Regions from separate parts of the Homo sapiens genome. Here regions 1, 2, 4, 5, 6 and 7 are each linked to region 3. Evidence: promoter capture Hi-C in 16 types of primary human blood cells and fetal thymus (Javierre and others, 2016). All regions are on one chromosome and are shown on one strand. Each heading gives the region's core, a stretch centred on a gene start or on the middle of the fragment in contact. The rest is flanking DNA. Distances are from core to core; before and after follow the strand shown.

The links. Contacts are between HindIII fragments. The CHiCAGO score rates a contact against its expected background, and 5 or more counts as called.
Region 1: a contact is called between a fragment that was not itself captured here and the fragment with the promoter of KMT2E-AS1 in region 3, in 1 of 17 cell types (total B cells). The highest score is 8.9, in total B cells.
Region 2: a contact is called between a fragment that was not itself captured here and the fragment with the promoter of KMT2E-AS1 in region 3, in 2 of 17 cell types (activated CD4 T cells and fetal thymus). The highest score is 5.9, in activated CD4 T cells.
Region 4: a fragment that was not itself captured here is called in contact with the fragment with the promoter of KMT2E-AS1 in region 3 in 1 of 17 cell types (erythroblasts); the score reaches 8.7 in erythroblasts.
Region 5: a contact is called between a fragment that was not itself captured here and the fragment with the promoter of KMT2E-AS1 in region 3, in 1 of 17 cell types (erythroblasts). The highest score is 5.1, in erythroblasts.
Region 6: a fragment that was not itself captured here is called in contact with the fragment with the promoter of KMT2E-AS1 in region 3 in 1 of 17 cell types (neutrophils); the score reaches 7.2 in neutrophils.
Region 7: a fragment that was not itself captured here is called in contact with the fragment with the promoter of KMT2E-AS1 in region 3 in 7 of 17 cell types (naive B cells, naive CD8 T cells, M2 macrophages and 4 more); the score reaches 8.3 in naive B cells.

The regions. Positions count from the first base shown.
Region 1 is chr7:106,087,987-106,091,023 of GRCh38, reverse strand. It overlaps SYPL1 (synaptophysin like 1), which reads left to right. Exons shown (of 5, transcript NM_182715.4): 5 at 1-519. Among named protein-coding and RNA genes, the nearest start is that of SYPL1, 23 kb to the left of the region's middle. The HindIII fragment of the contact is 226 bases long and covers 1,417-1,642 here.
Region 2 is chr7:106,115,315-106,118,030 of GRCh38, reverse strand. No RefSeq gene overlaps it. Among named protein-coding and RNA genes, the nearest start is that of SYPL1, 4.4 kb to the right of the region's middle. The HindIII fragment of the contact is 697 bases long and covers 1,118-1,814 here.
Region 3 is chr7:105,012,454-105,015,485 of GRCh38, reverse strand. KMT2E-AS1 (KMT2E antisense RNA 1) reads left to right here and starts at 1,345. Exons shown (of 1, transcript NR_024586.1): 1 at 1,345-3,032. It overlaps KMT2E (lysine methyltransferase 2E (inactive)), which reads right to left and starts at 1,281. Exons shown (of 27, transcript NM_182931.3): 1 at 951-1,281. RefSeq lists enhancers at 962-1,191, 1,452-1,571, 1,892-1,941, 1,733-2,272, 2,362-2,731 and silencers at 1,252-1,341, 1,692-1,741. The HindIII fragment of the contact is 4,615 bases long and covers 254-3,032 here.
Region 4 is chr7:103,149,817-103,152,852 of GRCh38, reverse strand. LOC105375434 reads right to left here. Exons shown (of 3, transcript XM_047421168.1): 2 at 2,289-3,036. The coding sequence ends at 3,033. It also overlaps a transcript of NAPEPLD not described here and the pseudogene RPL23AP95. Among named protein-coding and RNA genes, the nearest start is that of NAPEPLD, 2.2 kb to the right of the region's middle. The HindIII fragment of the contact is 2,071 bases long and covers 537-2,607 here.
Region 5 is chr7:103,131,799-103,134,540 of GRCh38, reverse strand. All of the region lies in intron 1 of NAPEPLD (N-acyl phosphatidylethanolamine phospholipase D), which reads left to right. Among named protein-coding and RNA genes, the nearest start is that of NAPEPLD, 16 kb to the left of the region's middle. The HindIII fragment of the contact is 800 bases long and covers 876-1,675 here.
Region 6 is chr7:106,424,557-106,427,511 of GRCh38, reverse strand. No RefSeq gene overlaps it. Among named protein-coding and RNA genes, the nearest start is that of NAMPT-AS1, 140 kb to the right of the region's middle. RefSeq lists enhancers at 2,075-2,174, 1,558-2,757. The HindIII fragment of the contact is 4,359 bases long and covers 1-2,955 here.
Region 7 is chr7:103,312,329-103,315,260 of GRCh38, reverse strand. It overlaps PMPCB (peptidase, mitochondrial processing subunit beta), which reads right to left. Exons shown (of 13, transcript NM_004279.3): 13 at 575-2,932. It overlaps DNAJC2 (DnaJ heat shock protein family (Hsp40) member C2), which reads left to right. Exons shown (of 17, transcript NM_014377.3): 16 at 2,160-2,314; 17 at 2,618-2,932. The coding sequence ends at 2,692. Among named protein-coding and RNA genes, the nearest start is that of PMPCB, 16 kb to the right of the region's middle. The HindIII fragment of the contact is 1,059 bases long and covers 1,147-2,205 here.

The DNA of each region.
Region 1 (3,037 bases), core at 280-2,779, 1.1 Mb before region 3:
GCTGTTTAAGTGCAGGCTGAGACCCAGCCTCTTTGTAAGTACAGTAAAATAATCCACCGTTTTTTACAGACCCTAGTCAAAGGGTTAAAAAAATTAAGATTGCTTTCCATGTTTGAAATTTACCATTGAGAGTCAATGAAGTTGCTATTTTGAGTTTAGCATTGATATTGTGAAAATAAGTGCAATTTGGATTTCATGTTTCTTAATATTCATTCTTGTTTCACAAATGAATGATTAAGGAATTATGCATCATAAAGGAACCTAAGTGAGGTATATGATGAGTGTATTGTCTTTGCACACACATATAGGTATATTCTGAATACAAGCTTATTCACATTTTGCTTCCTAATCTTTTTGTTGTACAGGGATTCAGGTTTCTTATTCTTACAACATGATTGTTTATATGTGAAGCACATCTTGCTGTTGCCTTATTTTTGATGCTTTTATTCATGACAAGAATTGTCAATATAAGAATGTATATCTTTTTTGCAACCAATTTAATAAAGGAGTTGAAAGAAAGAGTGCACTGATTGTTAATATTACAAAGAAACCTTCATCTTAAAGGCATTGAGCAGTGCAAAACAGAACTGATTTTCAAAGCAGGAAATAGAATCACAGTTTTAATGTTTGGCAAGGAATAAAACAGACAGAAATGCTTTGGAGACTATGGTTCTATCCTTTTTTCTTCCGACCTCATTTAGAAAATACTTATTTGCAACTCTTAGATTGTTTTCCTGATATACCTTTTCTCATTAATTGTCTAATTAACTAGCAAAGATTCCTGCTTAAGAGTGTGTGCTCTGCAACCGAACTGCCTAGATTTGAATCTTGTCTACACCACTTACTAGCTGTTTAACTGTAGGCAAATTGCCCTCTGTGTGCCTCAGTTTGCTTATGTGGAAGTCGGAAATAAAGTAAGTAGTTCCCTCCTGTTTACTGGGGATATGTTTCAAGACCCCCTGGGATGCCTGAAACCAAGTGTAGTACCAAGCCCTATGTGAACTGTCTTTTTTCCTATCCATACATGCACCTATAATAAAGTTTATCAATTGAGCACAGTAAGAGATTAACAAGGACTAATAATGAAGTGGCACAATTAAAACCATACTGTAGTAAAAGTTATGTGAATATGGTCTCTCAGAATATCTTACTGTACTGTACTACGGGGAACTGAAACTAAGAATAGTTAAACCACTTTCCTGATCTCAGTGTGTTTATGATTTAAAAGTGAATTAACAAATGTAAAGCCCTTAGAACAGTGTTCCGCATTTAGTAGGCACTCTATAAATGTTAGCTACGATTACTAACTTTTGATAGCATCTGATATAGAGATTCTTAAACTAGGAATTCATGGGGCTGGAGCCGTTAGGGTGGTGGTTTTGGACAAAGAGAGGATTGGCGTCAGGCTTTCAAGCTTGTCCCTTTACAATCCTTAAAGAGTTCTGGATCTTTTGGTGTGTTTTATTTTTCTGTTGGTTGACATTCATAAGGTTAATGAGATCAAAATTTAAAACTTAAAAGTATTGAGATTAAAGTAGATCTTAAAAGGACTTCTATTGCCTTTTCCCTTTGTGCTTTTGAATCAACATTACAAGGTTAACCCATTTATAGGATAATTTCCAGGAGAGAAGCAATAAAAGCTTTACTTACTAGGTGTTAGGTTGTAGAGAATTATTTATAAAAAAGATGAGCATTACTAATGTTTTAGTGAACAGAGGTCAGTTGAATAGATGTTTAACCTACTGTAAATGTTAAAGGCAATATTGCTTATGTTTCACATTTAAAATTTTTTCATATAGTATTTCAGATTAATAGGTAAGTATACAAAATAATATTTAACAAATGCTTTATTTGCATCAGATGTTTGTTTGTTGAGACAGGGTCTTACTCTGTCACCCAAGCTAGAATGCAGTGGCGCCATCTCAGCTCCCTGTTAACCTCCACCTGCCAGGCTCCAGTGATCCTCCCACCTTGGCCTTCTCAGTATCTGGGACTACAGGCACGTGTCACCATGCTTGGTAATTGAAAACATTTTTTGTAAAGACGAGTTCTCACTATATTACCCAGGCTGGTCTCAAACTCATGGGCGCAAGCAGTCCTCCTGCGTCAGCCTCCCAAGTGCTGGGATTACAGGTGTGAGCCACCTCACCCAGCGTTGCATCAGATTTTTTTTTTTTTTTTTTTTTTTGAGATGGAGTTTCACTCTTGTTGCCCTGGCTGGAGTGCAATGGCGCGATTTCAGCTCACTGCAACCCCCACCTCCCGGGTTCAAGTGATTCTCCTGCCTCAGCCTCCCAAGTAGCTAGGATTACAGGTGCTCGCCACCATGCCGGGCTAATTTTTTTATTTTTAGTGGAGATGGGGTTTCACCATGTAGGCCAGGCTGGTCTCAAACTCTTGACCTCAGGCGCTCCACCCACCTCGGCCTCCCGAAGTGCTGGGATTACAGGCATGAGCCATCGCACCTGGCTTTGCATCAGATTTTTTTTAAAGGAAATAAAACATTACAGATAAAGCCTTTTCCTTACTGAGGTAAAGTTACATTTTTCCTACCTTTCACTATTAAAAATAGCACACAAATATTCTTCTGCAGTGTGTGAAGGCTTCTCTAAGACCTATCACTAGAAATGGGAACTATTGGAATGTGAGATGTTCATGTTTTCCATTGTAACCTAGGTATTCCAAATTGTTCAGCAAAATGTCTGTAACAAGTTAGTCTCCCACCAGCAATAAGTAAGATTTCCTCTTGCTCCATATTGCCAATAACTTGATGTTTTTGGACTATTGCCAATCTGATAAGTTTGAAATTGTGTCTTTGATGCTTTAAAATTTATGTTACTCTGATTGCTATTTAGGTTGGTGGTCCTTTCCTGTATTTATTGGCCATTTGGTTTCCACCACCCTGTACTGCCTATTCATATCCTTTGCAAATTTTTCTGTTTGGTGCTTTTTCCTGCTGAATTGACGTGCTCTTTATGTATTCTTGGTATTAACCTCTTGACATTTATAGAGGTTGCAAATATCTTCTCTCTGTTCC
Region 2 (2,716 bases), core at 217-2,716, 1.1 Mb before region 3:
CAAGTCCATTGCAATTACACTGTCAGCTATGATCAAACAAACCAGAATGGAAGCCATGCAATGACTCTTAACAAGTTCACTGTGTACCTCCACAGTTTTTCTCTATGGTGAGGAAACAACAAAGTTCATGCCAGAAAGATTTATAACAATTCCTTTATGCCTATAAATAGTTCAGCAGCCAGGATGGAACATATAGAAATAGCAGTCAAAACTGGACGACTTCTCAACTTCACTAATACATCTACATCTTTTCCTCAATTTTCTCTTATCCCATTAATATTCAAAAATCATATCTGTCAGGCCCCACATTCACATAACACTACAAGTCAAACTTTTACCCCCTTATGCGTGGATAACTACTTTTTGGGTCACTGCCCATCCACATTTAATCCCAGGGGACCATGGGATCCCTCTATTTATGCAAACCATACGGGAATCTAAACTAATCACACCTATGCCTGGTTGTGAGGTTCCTCTTCAGGAGTTTCATTAAAAGGAACTGGGTTCTTCTTTTTATACAGATCTAACATATTTCTAGCCTTGTCTATTAAGTGAAGAGGCACTTACACTACAGTTGCAGCAATATCTGGAGTGCACATATATAACTCCTCAGACTTCGTAACCTCTAGCCAAGCTCCAAATTTAAAATCCTTCTTATGTTGGTCCCTCCAAAGGACATCAGAAGCAGTACTTAGTCTCCCATCATTTAGCATCCTCGCCAATAATAATCCTGTCATAGAGAAAAATGACCTAGGACATTCTGTAGCCAGTGCAATCTTTTGGTTTGCAGATATACCCATGCTTAAGTGCAGTATTCATAATCTCACCATCCTAGTCCAGCAATCTTGGGAAGCTACAATCACGGCCATTGAAGGCCAATGGCAGGCCCTGAACTCGCTGGCAGGGTATGTTTTGCAGAACCAACTCACTTAGGAGGTGCTTCCTGCTGAAGCAGGAGGCACCTGCATGCTGTTAAATAAAACTTGTTGCTTTTACATCAGTAACTCAGGTCAGGTAGAAGAAAGTTTAGAAAAGATAACAGACAACATAAAAATATTAAAGGGCCTTCAAAACAGAGTTCCTCAAGATTCCTTTTCAGCACAACTATTTCAAAGCTTCTCCAGTTAAATTTGGCCATGGGTTGCTCAACTTCTTCTGCCTATAATAAAGCTCATATTAGTTTGTTTATTTGCATACTGTATTGTTAATTCTACATCTGATTTTGTGTTTTCTAGGATACAACAATTTCAAACCAAAACAGTACTACAGCAAAGGTATCAGCTACATAACTTTCCTTTGAATGCAGCAGAACAAAATTTTAGGCTACAAATGCTGTTCTCCCATAGTCTCATAGCAACCCTGACCAATTTAAGTCCCAACTCAGGGATTTAGGTGTACATAACCTCCTGACCGACTAACAATCCTAGGTAGGGCCAACTATACACCCCTGGTCAGCAAGAAGCAGTTGGAAGATGAGACCTTTAACCACATGCCAAAGATTAGTCATTGTTGCTGTCAGGGTGTGAAGAAAGGTAGAGTCCTAATTCAGGAGAAGGAGTCAGGCTGGCAGGACCAGGGGAAAGCAAAACGAGAAAGCAGATAGATAAGCTATAAGTCTGCCTTTCTTCATGGTCCAGGACACATAGCCCTCATGTGTAAATCACTCACAATCTTCCTGTGCCGAGCTACCACCTGACTCTTGGCTGACAGAAAAATGCAAGTTAGCTCACTGCAACCTCGGCATTACCAATACTGCACAAAGTCTTCTTCAAGCGCAGAGCACAAGCACCATCCTATAAAATCCCTAGCAAGCTTTTGACTCTTTGCAGTCAGCTCCTCTTTCGCTGACCTGCCTGTTGCACCCTTGCAATACATTTTCCTACGTTCTCAAATAAATCTGCCTTTCTTTACCTACGACTGTCTTGGTAAATTCTTCTTACTGCCTGTACCACTGGCCCCAGATAGTTTCTGATCACCTGTGACACTCATTACATTAAATGTGGTTTCCTGGATTGGATCCTGGGGGAGTAAAAAAGACATTAGTGGACAACTGATGAAGTTTGAAAAATTCTTTAGTTTAGTCAGTAGTAACACATCAATACTAATTTTTTTTGTTTTGACAAATGTATGATGGTTATAGAAGATGTTAACATTAGGGGAAACTGGGTGAAGTGTATACAGAACTCTTTGTACTTTGCAATTCATAAATCAAAATATGTTTTAAAATGAAAAGTTTAAGAGGCCTCAGATTACTTTGAGATTAATTTACTGAGCCTATTAAATCCATCTATTGTACAATTTAAATAAATTTGGTTATCTTAAAATTTTTCTAAAATGATTATTGAATTCATTAGCGAAAACAAAACACCTATTTGTGTTTATAAGCAAAAGTCAGGTTTTGAATTTGGTATTAAACAATATCTTTTCAGAAAAGGAGATAAATATTGGTTGGGAATGAGTTACAAAGTCTCATCTTGCCAATAAGATGACCAAAACTTTGTATTCCCATTGAGAAAAACAAAAAATATTATAGTTAGCCAATGAGATGTCTAATATAGTTAATATATGGTTGACTAAATATAGTTTCCTTTCTGGCCTTCTGAGCATTCCTAAATCCCAAGTGTCACAGTCTGGCACATGTGTTCAAAGCCACAGAGAGAAAGTAAAACAATGACAAATTATGTAGGTAACTTAGCCATAATTATACCACCACAGA
Region 3 (3,032 bases), core at 96-2,595:
AAAAAGGGAACAAAATAGGCAAAACGAGGTTTACTCTAGAGCTAACTCTAGCGATTCCTCTTTGACTTTAAATTGTATCGTTCTTAAGACAGAGCCCAGCAAGGACGGATCTATACGGAACTAAGGCCAGTAGAAGAGAGCACTCTGGATTGTTTTTTTCTCACCCCCACCCCGTTTAGCACAGTGAACCGTTTGTTTCTCATCTGTGTCTGCTGCCATAGAATTTGTGCCAATCCCTTGGTCAAAATAAGCTTTTCTGAAATGAGCCATATTGTAGATCCTAAGGCTCCGGCACAGTAAAGGACGGCGGTAATGCAAAAGGAGTGGGGGAGGAGACTGAGAAGGCTGGGTACTGGGGTGACCACTTCAGGGGCGGGTTTACCCTCTCCAGGAGAGGATGAGGAGCTAGCTGTCTCGCTCTCCCACAAAGAGAGATGCCCAGGGCGTTCTTCTTACCCCCTTCGTATTCATGTGCACATTATACCAGAGACTGCCCGTCAAGAAATGGAAGAAGAAAATGGGGCCTATATGGCTTTTCAGCACCTGAACAAGACGCGGTTGAGAAAAGGGAGCGCTGGCAGCTCCTGGGACCACTTCGACACAAACCCTACTAACAGTCACAAGCCTCCGTCTTCACTCAAGCGGCCTTAACCCGCTGCCAATGAGGAGTGCGCCCCCTCCCTAACTCCCCCACTCTCAAGGGGGTTTAACTGCCAGTTACCCCTTTCCCAACCCTAAAACCCGCCATAATGCTCCATTTCTAGGGTCAGGGAGAAGAAAGAATAAATTCGATTTAAGCAAGCAACGTCTTGCGCCGGCAAAGACACCTGAGAGTCAACGTCGGCTCCCCCAGCTTAAGGATAAAGATGAGAGACCTCCCTCCCCCTTGAAACACAAGTACCCCAACCCCGCAAGCCCCAGGAACTCCCATGGAGACGACAGGCACTAACCTGTGATGTTCACACACGAGACACCCGAACCCCGTTATGTGCTCGACCCCCAAGGAGTCTCTCCGCACCTCCGCGAACAGGCGACCCCCCGACAGCAGCCACTGCGGACACAGGACCCGGCTCCACACACCCCCTCCCCAAACAGCAGCGCGCAGCCTCTTCACCAGGAACCGAGGAGTAGGGGAGGGGGCAGCCAGGCAGTCAACAGGAACGCAGAGACGACGGCGAGGCTGCTCGGAGTGTCTATGCCCACTCTGTTGCCGCTCCCGAACTCCGGCACGGTCTCCGACTCGGCCCCCTGCGCCCGCTCAGTGTCACTGCCTCTCGCTCTGGGAAAATGGCGGCGGCGGCGGCGGCGGCCGCGGCGGCGGCGGCGGCGGCGGCAAGTGCACGGGGTACGCCCGTCCCGCTCCGCAGGGGCAGAGGGGGAGGGGATGAAGCTGCCCGGCGCCATTTTGCTTGTGGGCTGCCGCCCGCCGTTGCCTCTCCGCGGAGGCTCGAAGATAGCAAACTGGAGGCGGTGAGGGGGACGGAATCTCTGTCTTTCTGACAACAGATGCATTCAACAATCCACCGAAGGTTTGAGGAAGTGTCGGTATTCGGTGGGACTGGTTCTTTCCCCCTTTCCCCCAGTGGCCCTCAAGTCTGGATATAGGTGAGCTTGGGCATGCCAGTATTGGGTGCACGAACAAGGACAGCAGGGCTTGGGAACGAACTCCCTCCCGTCACCCTCCGAAAGCGATACACCTTCTCCCCCTCCCAAACAACCCCAGTCCCGTCTCCCCGTTCCTCTCCCCCTCCTCCCCCAGCCCAGTCTGGCCTCCAGCGCTGGGTGAACCCGGTTGGGGTGTCACTCGACGCCCACTAGGGGCTGAGGAGGCTCCAGTGCGCAGGCTCCGGGCACCGGATAAAAGCGGAGCTGGCGAGTCTAGTGCTGTCTCGATGGAGGAGCAAGAAACGGAAGAGGTCGGGGGGAGAAGCAGCCGGAAAAATGCAGCCACCGTCAACGCCGCCTCCCTGCCACCGTGCTTCGGGGTAAAAAGCTGCCGTTGCCGTCGGTGCAGTTGCCGTCGCTGCCTCCTATACTTCTCTTGGCCTCGGGGAAGGATTTCCCCACCGGTGGGACAATGTGCGGGGAGGGGAGTGGGAATTCCTTTATATGGCGGTGATTAAACGAGGGAGGGACAGACAGTGATCTCGAAGAAAAAAGGGGGAGACCAAAGAATAAAAGAAGGGTTTCCCCACTAAAATGACACGGCGATTCCGGCTCTTGTTTTGGGGGTCTTTCCCCGAAATGGTTTCCGTCTTCCCCTTGCCCCGCAGCGACCCAGAGCGCTGGGGGAAGCGGAGTGGGGAGAGGCAGAGGCGGTCTCGGCAGCCAATCAGCGCCTGATGTGTCCTGTCGGGCGCGTCGTGGTTGGCTGGCGATGACCTCATCCTGCAGCAGCGGGTGGGGCCAAAGCCGTAGGGGGAGGCTGTTGCAAAGGTAGAGAGGGAGAAGTGACGATGGTGATCGTTGCTGCCGCGGCCGATATGGAACCCAAGCAGTGGCGAAGGGAATCGCAAGGCTCTTCCCTGACCATTTTCTACTGTCCCTGCGCGAGGTGAGGGCCCCGGCTCGGCCTCTGCAAAACTTTGGGGCGCTGGCGCGGAGGAGGAGACAGGATTTCTCCCGTGACTTTTGTAACTGCGTCAGGGCAAGATGGCGCTGGGTCTCTTTGGGGCGCGGGGGGAGAGGCACGTCCACCGCCGCAGCGCATGTGACCGGGCTGCATTCCTGTGGGGTTTGGCTCCGACCCAGGCCGGGGCGGGGGAGGGGACAGGGCTTGGGCGGAGGAGACTGTGGTGCGGTCGGCGTTGGCGGCCTGAAGAGGAAGAGATGACTGTTGGAAAGCGTTCCCCTCCCCCATACGGCAGAACAGCTGCGGCTCCCAGGGGAAAGCCCCCGCAGGACAGTCCTCGTGGGGTGTGACGGCTGTTGGTGGAGAAGGTTTGGCGCCCTATTTTCTTATCTGCCTTTCTCCCCGCAAAGTATACTTATGTAAGGTGGTAGTTCCCTGACGTGGGACTCGGAATCAACTA
Region 4 (3,036 bases), core at 323-2,822, 1.9 Mb after region 3:
CACCATCCACCAATCACCTCGCTTCCCAGTCAGGGAACCAAGAAATGTAGCAGGACGAGCCACAGACAAAACTCCTCAGACACCGAGTTAAAGAAAGAAGGGGTTTATCCGGCCAGGGGCATTGGCAAGACTCCTGTCTCAAGAGCCGAGCTCCCCGAGTGAGCAATTCCTGTCCCTTTTAAGGGCTCACAACTCTAACGGAGTGTGTGTGAGAGGGTCGTGATCGATTGAGCAAGCAGGGGGTACTTGACTGGGGGGCTGCATTCACCCGTAATTAGATCGGAACAAAACAGGATAGGGATTTTCACAGTGCTTTTCTATACAATGTCTGCAATCTGTAGATAATATAACCAATTACGTCAGGGGTCGATCTTTAACTACCAGGCCCAGGGTGTGGTGCCTGGCTGTCTGCTTGTGGATTTCATTTCTGCCTTTTAGTTTTTACTTTTTCTTTCTTTGGAGGCAGAAACTGGGCATAAGACAATATGAGGGGTGGTCTCCTCCCTTAAGAAGAGCGTCCCCAGGAGAAACAAGCTTGACCACTATGCTGTCACAGAGTTTCCTCTGACCACTGAGTCTGCCATGAAGAAGATAGAAGACAACAACACACTTGTGTTCACTGTGGATGTTAAAGCCACCAAGCACCAGATCAAACAGGCTGTGAAGAAGCTCTATGACACTGATGTGGCCAAAGTCCATGCCCTGATTAGGCCTGATGCAGGAAGAAGGCATAAGCTCCACTGGCTCCTGATTACAATGCTTTGGATATTGCCAACAAAATTGGGATCAACTTTGTTGCTGACCCAACAAAACTGGGATATTGCCAACAAAATTGGGGTCATCTAAACTGAGTCCAGCTGGCTAATTATAAATACATGTATCTTTTCACCAGGTTCATGCCTCTTTGTCAACTTCTGGTTGGGCTGGGGAGGCCATTCAAGGTACTGAGGTTGTAATAGGGCCTGGGCAAGACTCCTGTTCTACTTATCCTTTTGGAACACTCACTCTGCCACTCCACCATACTTGATCACTCCAGAGATCTTTATGACCAGAGCTAGTTGTCCTAAGAAAACCAGAACTTGTCTCCATGGTAGAGGTAAGAAAACAAGAAGCTGCCGGGTGGCGGTGGCTCAAGCCTATCACTTTGGGAGGCCCAGGCGGGCAAATCACTTGAGGCCAGGAGTTCGAGATCAGCCTGGCCAACATGGTGAAACCCCATGTCCACTAAAAAGACAAAAATTAGCCGGGCATGGTGGTGGGCACCTGTAGTCCCAGCTACTCAGGAGGCTGAGGCAGGAGAATCTGGGAGGCAGAGGTTGCAGCGAGCCAAGATCTGGCCACTGCACTTCAGCCTGGGTGACAGAACGAGACTCCGTCTCAAAAAAAAAAGAAAAAAGAAGAGGCTTTACAAGAACCCCTTCTTTTATCCCTGGAAGAGGCTGTGTGTGAAACCAATGCCCACAGTTTGAAGGGCATTAGCATTCATCTTAGGGGAGTGTGGGTTGGCTGGCTTTCAGGTAGCACTTTGACCTCACACACCCATCTACTATGTCCAACTGGTCTGTCTGCTTCCCTCAGCCTTAACCAATAAAGGACAAGGACTTAAAAAAAAAGAGTGGGAGTGAGGGGAACAAAGGGCATCTTTTTTTTTTTTTTTTTTTTGAGACAGAGTCTTGCTCTGTCTACCAGGCTGGAGTGCAGTGGTGCCATCTTTGCTCACTGCAACCTCCATCTCTGGGGTTCAAGCAGTTCTACTGCCTCAGCCTCCCTAGTAGCTGGGATTACAGGTGAGCTCCACTATGCCTAGCTAGTTTTTGTATTTTTACTTGAGACAGGGTTTCGCCATGTTGGCCAGGCTGGTCTCGAACTCCTGACCTCAGGTGATCCTCCTGCCTTGGCCTCCCAAAGTGCTGGAATTACAGGCGTGAGCCACTGCGCCCAGCTTTTTTTTTTTTTTTGGGGAAATGGGGTCTTCTCTGTTGCCCAGGCTGGAGTGTAGTGGCGTGATCACAGCTCACTGCGGCCTTGATCTCCCAGGCTCAATCGATCCTCCCACCTCAGCCTCTGGAGTAGCTGGGACCACAAGGGCGGGCCATCAAGGCTGGCTACTTTTTTTTTTTTTTAATTATTATTTGTAGAGATGAAGTCTCGCTATGTTGCCCAAGTTGGTCTCCAACTCCTGGGCTCTAAGGATTCTCCTGCCTTGCCCTCCCAAAGTGCCGGGATTACTTCTCCGTTGCTTAGTCAAGAACACTATGAAGAACTTTTGAGTAGTAACTTCAACTTACCCTTTGGGTTTGTATGTATGCTGTTACTTTTTTTTTTTTCTTCTGTTGCACAAAGGTATTATTCACCTTATGCAGTTTCAGCTCCACCCAGGTGCAAGCAGCTCTTAATCACCCTTAAGTTCAGCAGCCACTCTAAGCTAGCCTGAGGAGATAAAGTCCACACTTGACATACAGTTCTTTACATTCCTCCAATGTCACACAGGCACATTCACTTTCAAAATGCAGAATAGTTTGGTCTGCATTTTTCTGCCAGTCTTATCTGCATTTAGAACCTGTGGTGGTGGTTTCTTTTTTGCCAAGATAACCCCAGGGACAAGCTTTTTTTTTTTTTTTTGACCCTGGCACACCCCAGGACTTTTATAATCTTTTTGCCCAACAACCCATTGTTGAATTTTACTTCGACATGCCTGTACTTTACTTCTTGAAACAACTAATTTCATTCTGCAGTTTAAAAAGCAAATCCAGTAAGAAACTCAGAATCACAATCGTATGCTCTTTCATAGTTATCCTAGCGTTAAAAAAGATGCAAATTTAGATGAGAACCGTGTGTACCAGGGGGCTGTGACATCATTTTAAAAGTAAACGATCACACAGTGAACAATGCCGTGCTCCCATTAATATTCAATACGTACTGTACAACATTTCAAATTAGAGTTTAGTTTCTTCGCTACCAGGATCCTAGCGCCATAGGCTGTAAGTATTCAAATGCTTCTCGACTGTGATTGAGTTGGCTATGACAGTCCGTCAA
Region 5 (2,742 bases), core at 26-2,525, 1.9 Mb after region 3:
GTAGCTGGGACTACAGGCATACACCACCATGCCTAGCTAATTTTTGTATTTTTAGTAGAGATGGGGTTTCACCATGTTGGCCAGGCTGGTCTCGAACTCCCGACCTGAGGTGATCCACCTGCCTCGGCCTGCCAAAGTGCTGGGATTACAGGCATGAGCCACTGTGCCTGGCTAGAACATTTGTATTTTATATTTAAAATACAATTGTCACAGGGGTTTGTTACCTTTAAATTTTCTTCTGGATTCTAGTTTTCTAGAACAAATTTAGCATTTGGTATGTTTATAACTAACTGTTGTTCACAGAGGGAAAGAGGATGAGCAATTAATTATGCTTCTGATTATATTTAATTATCAAGAGCAATGTTTTCACTCCTGTCCCAACGTATTTATTTTCCAACACAAAATGCTATATTTCATCCATTTTGAGATAGACATTTTATTCACATTTTAACACCACTGATATCACTATATGTCATGTATAACGTGTGACCTAACTATAATTGATAACATTTTTACTTCCTTAGTGGCACATGACACATCAGGGTGCCTTACAATTCATGGTATTTTTATTTATTTATTACTTATTTGTTTAGATTGCTCTTTCAGAATTCATGGATCTTAAATTGAATCAAAATCAGTACAATGGAAAGATCTTTATCAAGTTTTAAAGCACTTTTTGAAACACAGGTTGTTTACAGTTTTTGTGTATTCATGTACACATCTACTTTCAGTTGGTGTTGGCCTGAAATCAAGGGTGGATTATTTTCATTTACATTGTTAATTTTGGAAACAGTTACATAACAAGAAATAGTTTGAAATTTGCCACATTTAATTACAGAAACTCTAGCTAGATATGTTAAGGGGTTTGTCAAGCTTGAAGAGCTCAAAGCTAGTTAACACAGGACCATACAGACAACCCACTCTTCCTCATTCCTACTTTTTCTGTCATTTTATCTGTGGTCTTCTGAGTGCCCAGAAGACACTGGGCATGAGGAGCGTTCTTGTGTGACCCACTCTCGGGCTGAGGCTCCTTTGTCACTGGAGCACCTGTTGGCAGAGCGTGTCATTTTGCACATTCAGCAAATGGGCTCCCAGTATTTTTCCTCCAGAAAAACCAGTCCAGAGTTTCAAGGCTCAGGTTTTACGTGCTTCTGCTCCTTCTTGCCCTTTCAACAGTGCATCGTGTGAAATGGTGTTTCATAGTTTGATCATTTTGTGTTGCTTTAACATCTGTCATGGATGGCAGTCCATAATCCTGTGACTATACATTTCCCCATACCCCAAGGATATGACAACGTGGCAGTTGGTCGCCCTGAAGTGGGTACATGATACATCTGAGGAAATAGTTTCAGGCCGTGTTTATGGAGCAGAGGAGAGTGTGGAGAGTGTGGGTAAGGTTAGAAACACAGACCCTGTGAACCATCATGCTGACCTTTGCCCTCAAAAAACCCTTTGGAGGTTTTTTCGTTTTGTTTGTATCAGATTTTTTTGTTTTTTGTTTTTTAAAGAGCATTTCTGAAAACTGGACTTTGTGTGTGTTAGGGGAGGGGGTTTGTTAGGAGAGGATGGCTATTTGGTAATGAGACCTGTTTCCACAGATTGATTGGGGTGAAAGACTGAGTGGATGGGAGGTGAGGAAATGGAGATTGTGTGAATAGACAACTTTGAAAAAGCTTATTATTTAGAGAGAAGAAAGATCACTGCACCAATTTTTTCTTTTCTCTTCTTTTTGTTTCTTTTCTTTCTTTCTTTCTTTGAGACGGAGTCTCGCTCTGTCGCCCAGGCTGGAGTGCAGTGGCATGATAACAGCTCACTGCAGCCTCAACTTCCTGGGCTCAAGGGATCCTCCCAGTAGCTGGGACTACAGGCCTGCAACACCACAGTGGGCTAATTTATTTATTTTTATTTTTATTTTTTATTTTATTTATTTATTTATTTTTACCCCTAAAGCAGCCTGAATCCATTTCCTTTGGGTGTCAATGAGGACTTTCTCTTGGGTTCTTGCTTTCCCATGACCTCAAACCCTTCTCAAACTCACTGGGTCACAATCCACCTTGATTAGTGGTGCTGCCATTTCTGACTCTTCCCACTCTCCTCCTGACCAACCAGCCCTACAAAGTCCAAAATTTGTGACTATCCAAATACTCTCAAGTCTTACTGATTCATCTTCTTTGTTGTCTCTTGGATTTATTCTGCTTTTTCTCTTCTCATTGCACTGCCTCCTCATCTTTTGACTGGGTTGCTATTCACTATTAAAAAGTGGGGATTATAATACCTACCTTGAGGGTTTGCTAGGAGCATGAGTTTAAATGAAATAGGTGAAATATGTGGCATGGTGGTTCAGTGTTATTGGGTGTTCTAGGCTTCTTCTGTTTTCATTCAATCCATCTCCCAAGCTCCAGTTTTTAGCCACTTCCTTTCTTTTTAATCCTGCTATCAGAGTTGTCTTCCCTAAGTACATCATTTTCTTTTTAGACGGAGTCTCCGCAACCTCCGCCTCCTGGGTTCAAGCAATTCTCCTGCCTCAGGCTCCCAAGTTGCTGTGACTGCAGGCACGCGCCACCACGCCCGACTAATTTTTGAATTTTTAGTAGAGACGAGCCTTCACTGTGTTGGCCAGGCTAGTCTCGAACTCCTGACCTCGTGATCCACTCGCCTCGGCCTCCCAAATGGCTGTGATTACATGCATGAGCCACTGTGTCCAGCCCTTAAGTACACAGCCTTTTAAGTGTGTTCAGTGTT
Region 6 (2,955 bases), core at 221-2,720, 1.4 Mb before region 3:
AGTGTTGAGTCCGGGAAGATGGATAAGGGCCTGTGGCAATGCAGTAGGAATAAACAGGTGGTGATGGACTTCCAGCAGGGACCCAACATGCTGGTGACCATTCATTTGGATGTGGAAGATGAAGGAGGAGATGGTCAAAGCAATAGCAGGTTTCTGCCTCAGGTGACCAGGTGGAAGGTTGTGCCATTTGCTGAAGAGAAAAAAAGGCTGGTGGAGAAAGTGGAGCCAAATTGGAAGAATAGAAACATGGTTGCTGGAGATAGCTGCTTGCAATGTTTTGTTTTTCTCTATTTATTTTGGGACATGGGATCCTTTTGTAATATTTTTACACATGAAAAGGGGTATAGTCCTCAAAGGCTGTTAGGACTGTCACATATGATTATGCAAGTCTTGCCGTGCAAAAGGGCTTCTGGCCCGGGAGAGAGCGAGGCTGACCTGCAGCCTGTGCGAGGCTCCTTGGGAGTGTACGGACAGGGTTGCATCTGCCTGGGAAAGGGGTACCCATGAGGATGCTTCCCATCACCTCTCTGGACCCACTTCCCACCCTCCTCTGTGCCCTGGCTGGCTGGCCTGTGTGGATGACATGGCCCACCCCCCTCCCTCCAGCACCTGGCTGAGTTCCACCGTTGGGGGTGCTGGCAGGAGAGCAAAGGGAAGAGCGTTTCTCTTGGCTCCTCTCCTTACTGAGGGCCATTGATTGTCTCTCTCCCTTTCTGAAGGTCACAGCTTCCAAAGCTACAGTTCTTGCTTTGTCTCAGTACAGGGCTCTCTCTCTCCTTGTCTCTCAGGGCTCCCCACTGTTGCTAGCCCCAGGATACCATACCATTCCTTGCAGGTTTGCCTAAATCCCACCCACGTCTTTGTAAATGGTGCCTTCCCCTCACACTTTCCTTCATTATCCACTTTGACTGTGTCATCTGTTTCCCGCCAGGACCAGGACTGATATTGAATATTTTTCTAATTAACACAAGGCAACATCTTCATTCACTTCCCCATGCACCTGTGAAGCTGTGACTACCATCGGGACGCCTGTTTCTAGTTCTCAGGAAGGTGCTGTGTTAAGCGAAGGGCCCTCTGGGTTCTGAAACTCTGGGGGCCTTGATTCCTCTGCAAGTGGGAGCCAGATTGGCTTTTCAGTCTCACCCAAACTTTGAGCTAGAAGGGAAGAGGGAGGAGAGTGGGGAAGGGAAAGGTGTCAGAGTCAGCGGACCCTGAGGAGAGGCACTGTGGATTATCAGTGTGAGGTATTAACATCACCCCTCCAGCCTTCACTGGGAATTGGGAGTCGACACTTGGGAATGTTTGAGTGCAGGTAAGGCAGGTGTCCCTACTCCACCAGAATGATCTGCTCCCCTTCTTCAAGTTTCTCGGTTTCTTACCCAACCATCCCCTTCCCCTACCCTGGCTATATGTAGCTGTTTCTAATTTTCTTTAATTTAACAAGGACTCAGTAAAAGAGAATATTTTCGTTAAACTTTCAGGTTTAACAAGATATTGTGAAAGCCATTGATCTCCACTCTATCACGCTGGAGAAGTAGGGAAATACCTATTTGTAAAATGTGCGTGTCTGCCTGTTGACACCCAGTTGTTGGCTTATTTGTTCATTCATTTATTTATGCATCTATTATTTATTCATTCATCAAATAGCTGTCAAATGCTATCTAAGACTTGATTGTTGTATTTATCCTCAGCTGGACCCTTCTATCCCCTCCTAAAGGAAGAGGAAGGAGGCATGCAAGGCACACAGCAAGGTGGGCTGATGCCAAGCTAGAACAAGGAAAGTGCAGTTGGAGGACATGTGTGGTGGGACCTGTAGCTGACCTTTCCCCTCCCTGCAGCCAGACTTTGCCCTCCCTGCAGCCAGGCCTGGGCCACACGGGTAGGAATACCCTGGCAGTTCACATTCTCACTCAGTCTCACACTCACTTTGTACTCTGATGCTGACATGAAGTGGCTCTGCTGGCAGCCCACGTGTTTCCAGATACTTGACCCAGCTGCAGGTATGAAGGCCTTACCTCCTGGCAAATGTGAAACAAAAGTCGAAGGAGACAAAGAGCCTGTGAGCTTGTTCCCCACTCCTTTCCATACTCAGCTGATGACTCAATTCACCACCAAGGGTGAGCATGAGGGATCTGTCCGTTCATATTCATCTTCCACCCTTTCCAGGCTTTGGATGTGTGGAGCTGTGCTAATTTGGAGTTGCTGAGCTACAGGACAGTGTTAAGAGAGGCTCTGGCATCTCAGATTTATTGCTTGAATACTTGAAATCCTTATTACAGGAAGTTACACAGCTTGCTTCCAAGCAGCACATGTAAAATTGCAGTTTGACGTTCTGGGGAAATCCCAAGCGTCACGCTGTTTCACCAGAGTGATAAATTGACAAGGGGCCAGTGTTCTGATGAAATCTTGCTTCTGTTTGCCTGCCTTCCCCATGAGTTCTCTAGTTTCCTAAGAGCCAAGAGTGAGCAAATAGGCTCTTACTCATTTTAGAACATTAGTCTTCTAATTTGCATACTTTCTTTCTACATCTAGTTATTGGTACTTGAACGGAAGTGGAGGAGTCTGTCCTAACATATTCCTCTGCCCTCCCCATCCCATCATGATTGAGAAAGAGAGAGAGAGAGAGAGATTGGAACTTGGGTTAGGAACTACTTTCCAGAATCTTTTATTTTCTTCTTTTTACTTATCTACCTTCCTTCCCTTTTTCTTTTCATTCCATTTCTCTCTCCCTCTTTTATTCAGTAATTTATCCAATTACCCATTCATTACTTTGTACCTGGAACCTGAGCTTAAGATAGCTGTGTCCTCTTCCTCTCCCTGATTAGGATTTAGATGTAAGTCTGTGAATGCCAGGATGATGTGTGGCTCAACCTACCTGTGGGTCTGCATACCTGAGTGATGGAGTCTCCTAGGAAAGACTCTCTTCACAGGAGGGGGAAATAGAAGCACCTACTA
Region 7 (2,932 bases), core at 427-2,926, 1.7 Mb after region 3:
TCTACTCCTCTAAAATTATTTCAAAATAAAATGTTAAAAATTGTTAGGGTTCAAAACCAGGAAACATAGTAAGACTCAAAAAAAAAAAAAATGTTAGGGTTTGATATTATCTTGGGTGTTGTGATTACTCTAGACCAATGCTTTTCATGTTACAAATCATGACCCATCACTGGGTCATGAAGTCAATTTAGTGTGTTGAATAGAAAATGAGTGTTACACCCATTATATGGGTGGGTATACTTGTGAAACTCTTGATCACGTGTGTCTTTGTTTAGGATGTGATATAAATTTTTTTCTTGCTATGACAAGGTTTGAAAGCAGTTTATGTGGAAAAAGTTCTTTCACTTCATGTTTTGTGAGCCACCAATCCTTTCTTAAACTAATCGCAGAAAGATGCTTTTGGATTAATAGACTTGACTATACATAAGCTGTTTCTTTCTTCTAAGAGTCCCAGTTTTACCTATATTCTTTAATCTTGCTTATTATCCCAAAATTTCAACTTAAAGATATGAGACTTACAGTGTTAATATAGGGGAGGAAAATCATTGCAAAAATCAGCAGTGACTTGTTTGGCTGAGTTAGGCATTATTTCGGTTCTTTTAATAAAGGTAAGTAACAAGGCAGGGTTTCAGAACACCTGAAAGACACTTCTTTATAAAGGAGTTTATTCTCCTGCACCTTTATCTCCACAAAATACAACAGGTATTAGCACACTAGTCTCAGCTCTTTCTTAGGGGGACTTGTTTCCATGTTGGAGGGAGGTGGGCCCTGATATTTGTCCAGTCTGCTTTCTGTGAGGAGAGGTGACCCTGTGAAGGCAAGAGTGACTGGCAGTAGTGCTATGTGGGTATGACTCCTTTGCCTCTTTTATGGAAATGGGAAGGCTCCTTCCTCTTCAGTTGTACCATTAAACAGCAAGCTGGCACCATTTTTTGAATAGTGATTTCTCATAGGAGTTTTGCAACAGTACGTTTAATTTATTTTGGTATTGTGAAGTAACTGGAGAACAGCAGGAAATACTGCCATGTCACTTCCATCTTTTTTCCAAGAGAGGAAATAAAATCTATGGTATTTAGGGCTTTAAACCAATACAAGGAAATTCAACAAAAGACTTCCTAGAACTTAAAAGCTACCTTCAAAAAAGCTTCTTAGGCACCTTAGGTACCATCAAATATTATACAAATTCTCTGCTTTGTTTTGAATAGGTGGTGGTTTTGTTTTGTTTTGTTTTGTTTTTCCTTCTTTAATTGGGAAGGAACTTTGGTTTCTAGGCTTAACTTTTAACAGATCTCACAGGCCGCAGTTTCTAGTAGTAGTCAGGCTACTGGTAGTATTAGTCTGTGTTGTCACTGCATAGTCTGAAATAACTAAATTGCCAGAAGTCCATTAACTTAACCAAATCAGCTTTCTACCACTTAACATTCTACTTTTACCTACACAAGTGGACTGTGTAATACTTAACATCCTTAAGAAACATATTTGTTTCTGACACACATCTTAGATGTTTTCTGAAATATACAAGGTTTAGTTGAAGAACCACAATAGCAGTTATTGGAAGTGTTCAGCATCGGCTCCCAAGATTTTAGCAGATGTGACGAAGAGAACACCACACTACAACACAATCTAATCTCAGCTTGCCTCTCCAGCACTGGTACCTTGGGCACTTGGCTTAATTTTGCTAGGTTTGTTTCCTTCAGTGTAAAACAAGAATGATTTCCAGGGTTTCTATCCAGCAAAAGTTTAACTGTGAGGAAGCTCTTTTACCTATTCTGTAAGGAAGTAGATTTATCAGAACTCTTAATGAATTGTGGTTGTGTTTTTGAGTCCAAGAGTCCAACAGTACTATAAATTTAAATATGGCTTTTTACCAGTCTGGTGAGTGTATTACATTGATTTTTAAGAGATAAACAGTACAAGGTAGATCTTTACTATTGTGTTTTAAAAGCCTTTGAGATTTTATTTTCTGGGATGTGAGCTATCTGAAATTTTTTCTCTTATTAACACTCAGAGGGCTATATGTATCTCTCATCTCTACAAGTTTATTTTCAAAATGACACATCCCAGATTGAAATGGGCACTTAGCGAATACTTGTGGACCACAAGACTTGTCTGAGAACATGTTCAAAGACAGTTTTCAAATAAAAATTTTTCTTAATCAGGTCCATATACAGACTTCACCCCTTGGACAACAGAAGAACAGAAGCTTTTGGAACAAGCTTTGAAAACATACCCAGTAAATACACCTGAAAGATGGGAAAAAATAGCAGAAGCGGTGCCTGGCAGGACAAAGAAGGACTGCATGAAACGATACAAGGTTGCAGACTTAAGCGTTTATAGATTGTTGTATTTTAAATTGTAGCTTGGGTGATATAGCTCATATTTTATGTCTATTAAGTGGTTAATAATATAGTGCTTATTTCAAAACCAGTAGTTATGGGGTCAATATTATGAGGAAGAAATGAGCAACCTTAGAAACTTTCTAGGCCCTGGCAGATAATGAAATCAGTATATTTAGTACTATCTATCTTAGTTGCTTGAATTCTTTACACCAAACACTAGATTAAAATGTCTGTTTTTAAATCGCAACTTCTTAAATCACACCTTTCTCCCTTCCTAGGAACTTGTCGAGATGGTAAAAGCAAAGAAAGCTGCTCAAGAACAAGTGCTGAATGCAAGTAGAGCCAAGAAATGACAATCTTTGTTGTGTGTGCATTTTTATAATAAAACTGAAAATACTGTAAACATTTTCATTCTTAAAATTATACTCATGGTAATAATTTGAAAGTATGCTGCTTCCAACATAATTTCTCAGAGAACAAAGACTGACCATTAATACAAAACAACCTTCAGAGGGGTAGTCTTTTTATCCTTTGAAAGTATGATACAGTATTTAATTCAAATTTCCAAATGTATATACATGTTCATTTTTATT